4 separate regions of the Homo sapiens genome follow, and regions 2, 3 and 4 are each linked to region 1. The links are contacts of gene promoters, found by promoter capture Hi-C in blood cells and fetal thymus (Javierre and others, 2016). All regions are on one chromosome and are shown on one strand. Each heading gives the region's core, a stretch centred on a gene start or on the middle of the fragment in contact. The rest is flanking DNA. Distances are from core to core; before and after follow the strand shown.

Region 1 (3,458 bases), core at 489-2,988:
GAAAAATCTAGGCCTCATCTTTAAATGGGGATATTTTCTTCACCTACTACAAATAGTCAGTGAGATTGTCATAGGAGATAATATGTTTAAGGAATATTATTCCATATTATTGGAGAGTTCTTTGAGAATCACATGCAGGTAATATATAAGCTTTATTATTTCCAAAAATATCACCCTTTGCCTCTCTCCTCCTTTCCTCTTTCATCTTCTGCCTCTTACCCTCACCCCCAATCTTTCCCATAAATGATGACACTTTCTGGATTAAATTTTCATGGAAGCAGAGACTATGTTTGTCTTGTTCGCTGCCATATCCCCCAAAGTGCCTGGCACATAGTAGGCCATCAATCAATATTTGAACAATTAATATATGGATTTTTTTTTTTTGAGATGGAGTCTCACTCTGTCACCCAGGCTAGAGTGCAGTGGCATGATCTCGGCTCACTGCAACCTCCGCCTCCTGGGTTCAAGTGATTCTCCTGCCTCAGTCTCCCGAGTAGCTGGGATCACAGGTGCGCACTGTGCACAGCTAATTTTTTGTATTTTTAGTAGAGATGGGTGTGCCGAGCTAATTTTTTGTATTTTTAGTGAGATGGGGTTTCACTATGATGGCCAAGCTGGTTTCAAACTCCTGACCTCAAGCGATCCGTCTGCCTCGGCCTCTCAACGTGCTAGGATTACAGGTGTGAGCCACCACTCCCAGCCATATGATTTAAAATTTTTTTATTTGTATAAATTTATGATGTACACATGCAATTTTGTTATAGCATAGATTGTGTAGTGGTCAAGTTGGGGCTTTAAGGTATCCATCACCCAAGTAACACACATTGTACCCATTAAGTAATTTCTAATCATCCACCCCCCTCGCCCTTCCAAATCTCCATGGTCAGTCATTCCACTCTCTATGTGCATGGGTGATTTGAAAGAACTCCTTCCTCTCATGTTCATCAGTCACACCTATGGTGGTGGCCAAGTCTAAGTTCTGGACACTGCCCACCAGTACCAGTCCTCAGCCCAGGGAGCAAGTGATTAGGGCAGAGAAGCCTGGTGGTTCTAGCCCATGGGCCCTTTCCCCTATTTGAGGCAACAGAAGGCATTTGCTTCCCCAGTGACTTGAGCTCCCCGAATAATGAAAAACTCTCCCTTCTACTTGATTAATACTTCTCACAGTCAGTAAACAAACCCAGAGCCATGGTTTTATCTTTCTTGGATCTTTTATTACAGGTAGGGCTTGTGTTGAGGAAAAACATAAATAAACCTGAACAATGGATCTACTCCACTGTTAATGCCCCTGAAACTCTGACTACATCCTCATGAGACTCTGGAAGTTAGAAAAGAGGAGAAACAAAAGTAAAAGAAAAAATATGAGCAGAAAAGAAAGGAGGCCATGCTCAGAGGGAAAGTGAGGAAGTTCCAGAGTCTTTCTAGAACGGCTCCCCCTCCCTCAGAAGGTGGTGACATCAAAATCCTACAAATATGAACTGGGAAACTGTTCAGGCAATCCATTGCTCCTGGAGTCTGAGTGTAATACATACACGTTTCTGCCCCTGGCTTCTATATTTTTCACCACAAGTTTTAGGAAGAAAAGCTGTGCCTTCTAGGCTGCCTCGACTTTGGAGTTAGGAGAGAAGAGGACGTGGGATACTCACGGGAATCGCTGTGCTTCACCATTAACACAATGATGAGAGGTAACAGGAACGCCATCAGTTCCCCCATAGTCCTTCTCTTTCCGGGTTCTTTTAACCAAAAACTGACAGGTCCCTTCTGAGAACCTCTTGGTGACACACAAGGCCTTCTCCCAATAAGAACAGGGGAAGATATGCAGTGTCATCAGTTGCTAGGTTAAAAAAAAAAGATAAAATGAAAGCATGAACACCTTCTTCGGTAACTTTTAAGTCTTTGCTGGTTTCAGACACTGCTTGCTCCTTTTGGTGTATCTATCTTCACCCTATTCCCAATTTTTAAATATTTATGGAGCATAGTCATGTTCAAAGCACAGAGAAACAAAGATTAATCATATCTGGTCAATCAGGGAGCTCAAGCTGCTGCCTCTGCTTCCCTGGAGCTTAGAATTTTGCTTAAGGGTCAGTAAGAAAGAGTCACAGTTCCCACGGCTTGGAACTCCCTGCTCTGGCTCCCTATGATGCTGAAGTCTCTGTCTGAGATAGCAGGTGTCACTTAGATTGTCCCGTAATCTTCAACTTAGGTCTGTCCTCCCTGCTACTCTAGCACCCAGCACAATAAGCTCAAAACACTTACTGAATAAAAGAAGGCAAGAGAAAGGCCTACAGAAGATTCTGAGGGGCAGCCACTCAGCTTGCTCAATCAGCAATCCCCAAGATCAAGCTGTGGCTACACTGTCATAAGGAGCACATGACAAGCTGGAAAACAGCAGCTTAAGCTTGTCCAGGGAGCTAGGGAACAGGCCCAGACAGGAAAGAGGAAGTAGACATGAAGGGGAGAGGTGAATGGAGGCATGGCCATGAGGCAGGCAGGCTTGAGCTGGGTTCAGGGACCTGGGTTTGCCTCCCCACTATTTGACCATGGGCAGAATCCCAAATTGCACCAAGGCCTGATTTCTTCAACTTTAAAAGCAAATCCTGTCATATATTTCACAGAGTTGTTGAAGGATCAGAAGTTCTGTTTATGATGCATTTAGTAGGTAGTAGAACCTTATGTACCGGTTGTATGGTAGGTTGAGAATTGTCGCCCCAAAGATGTCCACAACCTAATTGCCAGAACCTGTGGATATATTACCTTAAATGGCAAAAACAAAATAAAACAAAACAAAACCCTTGGCAGATATGATTAAATTAAGGATCTTGAGACAGAGAGCTATCCTGGATTATCTGGTGGACCCAGTGTAATCAGAGGGGCCTTATTAGAGGGAGGCAAAAGGGTCAGAGTCAAGGAGATGTGACAATGGAAGCAAAGGTCAGAGTGATGATGCCATTGCTGAAAGAAGGACATGAGCCAAGGAACGCAGATGGCCTCTAGAACTAGAAAAGAGAAGGAACAGATTCTCCTTAGAGCCTCCAGAAGGAACACAACACTTTGATTTCAGCTGATAGGACACATTTTTGGACTTCTGTCCTCCAGAACTTTGAAAGAATAAATTTGCATTGTTCGAGGCCACTAAGTTGGTGGTAATTTGTTATAGCAGCAACAGGAAACTAATAGGTCTACCTTTACCCAGAATAAAATAAGAAGCCAAATAATGAAATTAACATTTGGCAATCTCTCAGCGGCCCCTGGCACCTTCTCTTCTCAGATCTTTGTATTTCTCTCTTCCTTTCCTTTCTGTTTCTTTACATTGTTTTTCCTTTTGTTACTCATTTAACAAATACAGTCACCTGGATTTCTCTTTTGGAAAACTCCCCCAATATTCCCAAATGTCTCTCAGCACTGGAATTCCATGGCCATGTATTTTTTCCTTTGAATTTTTGTTAATATCTTGTTCC
Region 2 (3,458 bases), core at 380-2,879, 870 kb after region 1:
TTAGGCTCATTTGATGTATTAATTATATGGGAAGCATTGTCAAACAAGAAATGATGTTTAATCTTCTTTGAGTTATATTTATTGATGTATGTTTATACTTGCTATTAAGGTGTATCCCCAAAATTATATGATATTCCTAGAAATATGATACATTATCAGCCTTAATTTTGGTTATTAGGTTAAAATGTTGTATGCACAGCAATAACCAGATTTCCTTGTCAATTGTGTCATTATTACTATGAACTCTCATCAGATCTTTAACCACAACCATTTTAAGTCTTATTGTCTACAGTTAATTGCTTTATTCTGATGTTTTTCTAAAAGCTTTTTTCTAAGCAACTATAATCCTGAAGTGCTTCATCTTCAAGGAGATCCACGGAAACGTCTCTGATAAGTACCATTTCTGATAACTTCGAGATAATACGATTGGACTGGGAAAGAATTTCCAGAACTCTAATGAAAAAAACTGATGGGTCTGCAAAACTGATAACCAAGATCAAGCACAACAAGAATTAATTACATGAGACTAAATGAACTAATGAAGAATTATGGGTTTTTCTGGTTTTTAAATTTGAAACGTTGCTGGTTCTTTTTAATGTTTTGTTGTCCAGATTTAAGAAAACTTATTTTCTTTTAAGCTATCTATAGTTTACAGCAATTTGGTAAGTATACTCTTGTGAACAAAAATGGAAACATTTTCTCCCTACAAGACCTCTCTGGAATTCAGAAACTATTTGTGAATATTCCTATTTTTATGGCAATACTGTTATTTGCATAAGTTCAATAAGTATCTGCTCTCTTTACAACAGGATACAATAGGAAACACTGGTCATATTACCAAGGTTTTGAGTGTGATGCCATACTTGAGAATATACCTATGATGAATCTATAGGTACTGCAGGTGAAATCTGAAGTTGGGCTTGGGTTGACTTCCTAGCCTTGAGAAGTTGTTAAAAGTCCAATCTGAGATTCCTTATCGATAAGTTCTAGCAAAGCAAACTTAAGAAGAGCCTACGTGGTCAATCACTATTCTTGCCACACTTATGTAAATAATTAGGCCAAGTCTGATGTGACTAAATATTTTCTGCAAGCAAATTAGTCTGAATTTTATTTTATTTATTTTATTTTATTTTATTTTAGATGGAGTCTTGCTCTGTCATCCAGGCTGGAGTGCAGTGGTGCAATCTCGGCTCACTGTGACCTCTGCCTCCCACTTACCCTGATTATCTTTGGTAGAAATGGGGGTGACTATAGAGAGAAAAAATATGTTCCTAAAGAAAAACTATAGTACATCTGTTATTAGATTGTAGCCTTGTTGATCATTTTCAAGTTTTTATCATCTACCTATAAGATGGATTGAATTCTGAATTCTTCCAGTTTCTTCCAATAACTAGCTACAATTCTCCAACTAAGAACAGGAACTGTTCTGTGCCTAAAGCCCTATAAACAGAAGCTGAACAACTTGATATACATTTCAAGGGACAAGTCTCATGCCTGACGTGTACGCTACACAAAGAGTTCACCAAAATGCCCAATGCCATAACCAGAGACAATCAAACTGCAAACCAGGACAAGAAGTTGACAACTTCATGCTTTCCCAAAACTTCTGAACAAGAGTTTCATTGGAATAAGACTTCCACTTTATCCTTGATTACATCTACCTTTTTTTGTCTGGCAGGATAATGCTGTAGTTAGAATTTCACAATCAGTGGCTTCTGTGGGTAACTTCACAAACTGTTGGATTTGTCACGCTAAACCCAGATCTTTACATGACCAAAGGGATCCTTTAGTCTGCCCAGTGGGTAACTTCAGCAACATCCCTAACACAACTGTTGTTCAAACTGTACTAGTGGTCCCTTTTATAGAGTCAGACTTTTAGACCCATGTGTTCTCACTTCCTGCTTTAATTTAACCCAGTCATGGGATACTAGATAATAGAACTGCTACCTACTAGCGAACAGGGAATCTGTGCAATTGCTGACACTTTCTGTTGCACATGGATAGACACATAGTGTATTGAGACTCAGTTGCAAAAAAATGAACAAATAGTACTTGCTTAAAAAGGGTAAATTCCTCATCTGGCTCATTCTTTGATCTCTTCAATTTTAGTTGGTTTGGTTCATGGGTCCCTGGCTAAGCGTCATATTGTAAACTCTTAGTATTATCCTGGGGAGAGTCATTACAGTAGTTTCCCTGTTACACTGTATCCTCTCAAAGAGTCTTAAATATCTATATGCAGCCCTCTGCTGAATGCTAAATGGTCTCTCTCCAGCTGGAATGATAAAACTCCAAGAAACGCATGATAATGAGGACACCTTAACCTATAAATGATGTGTTAAGACCGAAAACCCAAAACGATGATTACTGAGAGTAGTGCTGATGCCCTGTTTTAGTAACTCTCACCTAGGTGAGAACCTGACCAAAAGGGGAGAACTGTTAAATAATATTTCTAGGAGGCCATTGGTTGGGACTGAGCTCCTGCACAAGGCCCAAGAGACCAAACCAAGATGGAGTCCCTCAAGCTGAAGTTCCACGCCACCAAGCCAAAACTAAGCTGTCGATCTGACCTTCCAAGATCAGGAGAGAGTGAGTTAACAGTCAAATCTTCAAACAAGCCAGTTTCAGCCAACATACAGAAGTCTCCTCTGCTTTAACCTTTAAAAGGGACCGAAATAACCAATCAGATTTTTGATCTGTTTCTACTTTCTTCAGCCTTTTTCTGTCTATAAAGCCAAACTCCTCTGCTCAGCTCATCAGAATACTCATTCTGTAAGACAGAATGTGGTGTTGTCCGATTCCAGAATCACAAATAGAAGCCAGTTAAGATTTTTGAATGTGGTGTAATTTTGTCTTTTGACAAGTAACAGGAGATGGAATAGAGAAGGTCCTTATGTGAGTGCTCCATTGTTAAAGCAAAGCTGCATTTAAGCTTTACTGTCAACGCAATGCAGAGCTGGGTGACAGAGGCTTTTTGAAGTGTCAGGTGTCTTAAATGCCTAACACCAAAATGATCAGTAGTATCAGTCTAGCTCTACTACTGGGGAGAAAACCCTTTCCTGGTGCAATTATTGCTCTGAACAGCGTAATTTTTCTACCAACCACAGAATAAATGGACTAATGGAGAGGGGAAGGGTGGCGAGGCAAGAGAAGTTGGACAGCTGTAAATCTTGGATTGATGGGTGAGGGGATGCCCTCTGGTAGGGGGTGTTGTGGGGATTCTGCTGAGCCCCCACTGGGGGCTTGGTCTGGAGTCAAGGGCAGCGTCCCCTGCCCCACTCACAAGTGCAGGGAGGGCACTGGGTGGAGCAGGAAGCCTTGCTTGGAGTTTAACTGGCTGCAGCACCGTGAGCTCCACATGTCTCTCTGGACCTCTGCTTCCTCCTGGATCAGCGAGGGCCAGGATGAATGATCTCTAATGCCCCTTCTAGCTCTGACAACCGTTGAGGTGCTGGATGGCA
Region 3 (3,458 bases), core at 579-3,078, 550 kb after region 1:
ATTAACTTCATTTCTCTTCACCTCACTGATCTGATGATGTTTAGACTAGCATCCATTGTTATTTGTGTGTTGACCATGGAGAAAAATAGCATAGATGGGAGAACTGACACTCTCCTTTCTTTAGTTCCAGCAGCCAAATAAGTGGTTGTCTAGCTGTCCAGTATCCATCTAGCCTTTTGCAAAATTGGCTGCTATTCATCTGTGGTTTTTGTAACATCAGCTAGTTATCTTTTACCTATAAAAATTATTGAAAGATAGATAAATTTATACCTGTTGTTTATACTTACCTATGAAGGCAGTCATAATTTTTATAATTTATATTTAAAAAAATAACTAAACAGATTTGTTTTTGACAAAAATTTACCTTTGACTTTTTTCTTGTTATTCATATCTAATTTTTGTTGACTATAAGGTATTAAATTGAGGTTCTCTAGGTGCCTTATGCTAGAGAATATTTCTTTAAGTTATATATTTCTCATGTATTAAAACTCTCATCTCAGAAAGAAATTCACCTGACTATCGAACTTGATAGTACTCCATCCAGCCCATAGACTCTTCAAGGCAAGGACCGTGTCAGATTCGCCTTTGTGTTACTATTTACCACCTACAAAGTTCAGCACAGGGCCATACCATAGAGGATACCTAGATTATTCTAATTTCCTTATAATTCTCTTTTCCAGGGTAAATAACATGAATCCATTATATTTCTCTCTTAGAGTGTATTTCCAACCTTCTGGTTCTTCTTTTGTTTCTTCAAGTTCCAGGGCATAACTTATGCTCAGTATAAGGGGAATACTTTATTTAATTTAATTAGCATTTTTAGAGCATATAGATATGTAGGATGCTATTAGCAATTCCTGAAAAAAGCTACCTGGGAATAAATAGAAAACTTAGCATTTTTGGTTAAAGACTAACAGTGTTGCTGAAGAAATTAAAATATACACAGGGAAAGTGAATTTTGAATTAAGATTTGAGTATGGTAAAGGCCACTTTTAAGGTAATAGAAATATTATAAAGCACAAAGTCTGCATGATTAAGTATTTTTTTGCCCCAAGTTTCAGCCTGTGTTGATGATTTTCAAAACTGTGTCTCTCCTTATCATTCTTGCAGTTTTAACCACAGTCTATATTGATTCTAAATTTATTTTTTAGCCCTGATCTTTTCTGTGATCCTGATCAGGGATTAGGGTTTTTAGACCAGGGTCACAAAAAAAAAAAATCAAAAACAAGCGCCTTCATGGGCCAAGCCATTAACATAAATGAATGAAGTCGGTTTTGATTTATATAGAGAGAATCACAAGGTTGTGGTTTGCAGTGAAGTGCATGCCCTATTTAAAGAGGGGAATTGGATGTTAGCTCCAGCCAGTTATTGCCATGAATGCTCAGTAGTGCCAGATCTGATATAAAATCTTGTTTTTTTTTTGTTTTTTTTTTTGAGACGGAGTCTCACTCTGTTGTCAGGCTGGAGTACAGTGGTGCGATCTCCGCTCACTGCAGACTCTGCCTCCCGGGTTCCAGCAATTCTCCTGCCTCAGCCTCCTGGATAGCTGGGACTACAGGCACATGCCACCATGCCCAGTTAATTTTTGTATTTTCAGTAGAGACAAGGCCTCACCATGTCGGTTAGGCTGGTCTCGAACTCCTGACCTCAAGTCATCCACCCACCTCGGCCTCCCAAAGTGCTAGATTACAGGCATGAGCCACCGTGCCCAGCCTGAAATCTCATTTTTTAAGTGACATCTTCTGATTTTTTTTAAAGTTAAACATAATGTGAGCCTAATCAAGTACTTCTACAAGCTCCATTTGACTTGAAGAACTCTGCCTTTTTGGCTTTGAGTTTCATGTGCTGGAATACTTATTGAGCATTTCTGTTTAGTGTTGCATTGGCACTTCAGACTCAACAGGTCTAAAATAGAACTTATCAACTGTCTACCCCCTTACCCTGCCTTCAGATGCTTTCTTCTGCTTCTTTCCTTATTTAATGGTATTGCCATATACTGAGTTCATTCAAGTGAGAAACCTAGCAGTGATCCCTGAATCTTTTCTTACTGCTTTTTCTTAGTGACCTATTTAATTAGTTACCAAGTGTCACTAATTTTATCTTTTAAGTAATCTGCATCTATCACTTTCTTTCTACCCCTACTGCCTCTTTCTTAATATATCATCATCTCTTGCCTAGGCTGTTGCAATGCCTCCTGTATTCTCCTTGTTTTGAGTGTGGTCCCTCTGAGTTCTGTTTTCCACATTGCTTCGGACGTGACTTATCTGAATGTATATCTGACCATGTTTATCCCATTTAAAAGTGGTTCCCCTTTACTCACAGGCTAAATTAGCATGATATACAAAGTCCACCATAATCTGGTTTATATCCACATTTGAGTCCCACCTTTTATCCCTCTTCATCTTTTATTTTAGATTCCAGTACTATCAGACTGCTTGTATTTTCTGCTTGTATTTTCTTTTTTTCTTTGGTTTTGAGACAGGGTCTGGCTCTATCACCCAGGCTGGAGTGCAGTGGTGCGATCTCTGCTCACTGAACCCTCTGCCTTCGGGGCTCAAGCCATCCTCCCACCTCAGCCTCCTGAATACCTGGGACTACAGGTGCGTGTCACCACACCCAGCTAGTTTTTTGTATTTTTAATAGGGACAGGGTTTCGCCATGTTGCCCAGGCCAGTCTCGAACTCCTGGACTCAAGCAATCCACCCGCCTCCGCCTCAAAGTGCTGGGATTACAGGCGTACCTGCCATACTGCTTGTATTTTCCTACAAATATATGGGGTACCTGTGAAATTTTGTTACATGTATATAGTGCTGTACTGATCAAATCAGGGCATTTCGGGTATCTGTACATTTTTGTCAAGTGTAGTCCCTCTACTCTGCTATCAAACATTGAATTTATTCCTTCTTTCTTACTGTATGTTTATACCCTTTAACCCACTTCTCTTCATTTTCCCCTCTTCCCCCTACTTGCCCCTCCCAGTCTCTGTTATGTGTCTTTCCACTCTCTACCTCCATGTGATCAAATTTTTTAGCTCATATATATAAATGAGAACAAGTGATATTTGTCTTTTTGTGTCTGGCTTATTTCACTTAAGATAATGACCTCAAGTTCCATCCATGTTGCTGCAAATAACATTTCATTCTTTTTTATAGCTGCGTAATATTTCATTGTGTATATATACCACATTTTATTTATTCATTCATCCGTGATAGACATTTAGGTTGACTTTTTATCTTTGCCATTGTGAATAGTGCTGCAATAAGCATGCAAGTATTGATTTCTTTAGAGAAGAGGCTTTAAATGAGATTGATGAATATTTTGTTTGTTTTTAGAGACAAGGTCTTGCTGTGTTGCCCAGGCTGGAGTGCAGTGGTGCAATCCTAGCTCATTGCAGCCTCAAACTCCTGGGCTCAAGTGATCTTCCCACCTTGGCGTCCTGAGTAGCTGGGACTACAGGT
Region 4 (3,458 bases), core at 491-2,990, 540 kb after region 1:
TTGGGAACCATTTTGTCTCAGGTATACTCACTTCATCCAGATAATATGAAGGAGGGATGTCCCTCATCCTTTCAAGAACTTGACTTTATGGTGTTTAGAGATATTCTGTATCTGAAAATAAAATTCTGCATTGTTAGAGAATAATATGCTTACTTATATATGACACTGGGCCGCAGTTTTCATCAATCTCCTAAATATTTTTGACAAAATTGTGAGATAGTGTTAAGAATAGCATCTTTGATAGAATAATAAAGTTGGAAGTCCAATATCATTTCTGCATATTGGATCAAAATTTATAAAATAACGTTTTGTATTCAGAATAGCACCCTATTTTGTAGGCTGGATGAGGTTGTTGGCAGGAAGATAATAAAAATAAGCTGAAATATGAACCTTATTTTCTCAGGGAGAACTCTAAACTTAGCATCATAGCTTTATTAGTCTCAGATAAGCCTATGGCTTCAGAATAATCTTTTAATAAAGTTTTAACAAAATCGAATGAACAATTTTTTGGTCCTTCTTTACATCAGCCTACACTCTCCCTCCTAAAGATAGCTAATTGACAGCTGTGAAAACTGGAGAGTAATGAAAATTTGTGAATTCCTGTTGACTTCATAAGATACTGTTTAATAATACTTTTTTTTTTTTTTTTGAGACAGTTTTGCTCTGTCATCCAGGCTGGAATGCAGTGGCGTAATCTGGGCTCACTACAACCTCCGCCTCCTAGGTTCAAGCTATTCTCTTGCCTCAGCTTCCCGAGTAGCTGTGATTACAGGTGTCTGCCACCGCACCTGATTGATTTTTGTATTTTTAGTAGAGATGGGGTTTCACCATGTTGGCCATGGTTGACCAGGCTGGTCTCCTGATCTCAGGTGATCCACCTGCCTTGGCCTCCCAAAGTGCTGGGATTACAGGCATGAGCCACCGTGCCTTAATACTACTTTATTAAATATTAACCCTTGAGTCAAGTCTTACATTTTGTGTGATGAGATGGGAAGTACACACAAAGTACTTCTGCTGCATACTGAATTATGTTAACTATTTTGAGGAAAAGCACTTGTGTAATTTCTGAGTCGCAAAATGAACTATATTCTTTTCCAATTTTACTTAACAGAACAACTCACAGATAATTATACCTACTCAAATTTGGGTATTTGGCAGGTAGTTTCTTAAAAATGAACGAAATAAGCCTGTCACTTCAAGGAAAACAACTCAAAGTGTTTGTTGCCAGTAATAACATTTGAACCTTCAAGTGAAAATGAGAAATTTGGAAAATCTATATCTGCCACCATGAGCTTGACAGCTTCCCAGTACTTAAAAACTTTTTTTGATGAGATAAGTGGTGACAGTCATGAATGTGAACGTTTGCTGTTATATCATGAAATGTGTCAACATTTGAAAAGTCTGTGTAACTCAGTAAACCATATTTTCTAAATATTTCATGGAATGATGTTACAAATTATGTGTTGGTAAAAGATGCCTTTCAAAGTGCAAGTCAGACCAATGGATTTCAGTGTTAACAGTATGAAAAATTCATTGATATGAGTTCAGATTCCTCGTTGCAACTGACCTTAAACTACCATCTGTTAGGTTTTGGCATAGTATCAAAGAAGAATATCTACAATTATCTGAAAATGCTGCTAAAATACTTCTCTCTCTTTCTAACAACATATCTGCGTGAAGCCGAATTTTCTTCATATACTTCAACCAAAACAACATATTGCAGTAGACTGGATGCAGCATTAGATATGCAAATGCAACTGGCTTCTACTAAGCGAGACATTAAAAAAATTAAAAAATGTAAAACAGTGCTACTTTTCTCACTAATTTTTTTTAGAATATGTAGTTATTTTGCATGAAATGTTATTTATGTTAACATCTAATGGGTTTATTATTTTTAAATGAATTAATACACATTTTTTAAATGTCCCAGTTTTAATTTCTAATGTGGTAAATATCGATAGATATAACCCATATAAATGATGGCTCTTTAAGATCCTTAATTTCTGAGAGTATAAAGGGATTACAAGACTAAAAAAATTGAAAACTGCTGCCCTAAGTTCCTTTTTCATGGTCAGAGGTGGCTTACCATCACCACATGTATATCCTATCCAGAGCAAAGGGAAAGGGGAAGACAAGCTCCTTTTCTTTTTAAGGAAGGTATTTGTATCACTTTTCCACACATCCAGTCCCCAGAACCTAGGCAGAAGTTGGATGGCCATGTATAATGTTTAGCCGGATGATCATGTGTCCAGCTGAGACTTCTGTTACTATAGGAGAAATGGAGAACTATTGGCATTTGTTTCTGCCACTGGATAGTGTCTGGATAAAAAACAAAAATAGTTATAATTGCTATTTTTATGTCTTAAAGTTTGTATAATTTATCTCATTTATTATTTCTAACAGTCTGGTAGTTCATGTGATTTTAGAGAGTCCAGAATTGAAGCCCAGACTCTATTTAGCATTTAAGACAGAATGATGTAGTAAAGGGATATTGAGCTTTGGAGTCAAACACTCTTTGATTTAAATCCGGACTACTAATTCAGGATATACTAATGTGTGAACTGAGACAACCCTCCTGAGCTTCTCTCTTCATTTATAAAATGAGTTTGTGATGGCATACCTAGCAGGATTTTTTTTTTGGCCCATTTGAGATAAAATATGTGAAGTGTTTGGTCTATCGTGATTGTTCAAGAAATGTGGCTCCTTCTTTTTCACCCTTTCTTCTCTCTATTCCATCATAACAGGGCTGCTTCTATGTAAGTATACATTTTAATAACAGCATAGGGCCATGCAATTAATCGCTAAGCAAATGATAGAGGTGGTAATTGTTATGAATTCAGAGGTAGATGAGATCATTGTAGACTGAAAGGGTTCTTAGAATCTGAAATTTGAGTAGAACTGGAAGGTCGTGCAGCATCTTGAAAAGCTGAGGAAAGAAGAAAAGGCATTTCAGGTGAGTGGAGTAACAAGCAAAACCCTGAACTAGGAATACCTAAGGCAGTCAGTAGATCATTCTGGTTAGATGAAGGCATCAGTTAGAGTAATGGGAAACAGTGGGAAAATCCCTGAGAAGTAGATAGGTTCTGTGGATGAGTTAAGAACAGTTACAGGCTCTATTCTAATAGAAAGATGAGACTTTACACAAAACTTTCTAAACACATGGTAGAAAAAGTGAAAAGTACCATAAAAGATATATAGAGTAAATGCTCTAAGAGTTCATAAGGAAGGAAGATGACTTCTGGCAGTGGGAATCAGGGCCTGTATAGTGAATTCTGCACTTGTGTGAATTTCATTTATGCTTATTCTTAATGAAAATTTCACTGTGCAGTTTAACTACAAATGTCGGTTGAGGATTAAAATTAAGTATTGACCTCAAACAAAAGATGATAAGACTATTGTAGAAAAACGGAATTGTATTTTTGAGAACCCATGAAATTTTTTGCATGGCTTTTGGCATC

Evidence for each region. Contacts are between HindIII fragments. The CHiCAGO score rates a contact against its expected background, and 5 or more counts as called.
Region 2: a fragment that was not itself captured here is called in contact with the fragment with the promoter of MR1 in region 1 in 1 of 17 cell types (total B cells); the score reaches 6.0 in total B cells.
Region 3: a fragment that was not itself captured here is called in contact with the fragment with the promoter of MR1 in region 1 in 3 of 17 cell types (total B cells, total CD4 T cells and activated CD4 T cells); the score reaches 5.8 in total B cells.
Region 4: a fragment that was not itself captured here is called in contact with the fragment with the promoter of MR1 in region 1 in 11 of 17 cell types (total CD8 T cells, total B cells, fetal thymus and 8 more); the score reaches 11.7 in total CD8 T cells.

The regions. Positions count from the first base shown.
Region 1 is chr1:181,032,263-181,035,720 of GRCh38, reverse strand. MR1 (major histocompatibility complex, class I-related) reads right to left here and starts at 1,738. Exons shown (of 6, transcript NM_001385161.1): 1 at 1,647-1,738. The coding sequence starts at 1,713. RefSeq lists enhancers at 1,829-1,938, 2,069-2,168, 2,369-2,558. The HindIII fragment of the contact is 2,248 bases long and covers 153-2,400 here.
Region 2 is chr1:180,158,840-180,162,297 of GRCh38, reverse strand. All of the region lies in intron 1 of QSOX1 (quiescin sulfhydryl oxidase 1), which reads right to left. Among named protein-coding and RNA genes, the nearest start is that of QSOX1, 5.7 kb to the right of the region's middle. The HindIII fragment of the contact is 2,605 bases long and covers 327-2,931 here.
Region 3 is chr1:180,479,006-180,482,463 of GRCh38, reverse strand. All of the region lies in intron 3 of ACBD6 (acyl-CoA binding domain containing 6), which reads left to right. Among named protein-coding and RNA genes, the nearest start is that of ACBD6, 22 kb to the left of the region's middle. The HindIII fragment of the contact is 5,657 bases long and covers 1-3,458 here.
Region 4 is chr1:180,496,047-180,499,504 of GRCh38, reverse strand. All of the region lies in intron 1 of ACBD6 (acyl-CoA binding domain containing 6), which reads left to right. Among named protein-coding and RNA genes, the nearest start is that of ACBD6, 4.8 kb to the left of the region's middle. The HindIII fragment of the contact is 4,552 bases long and covers 1-3,458 here.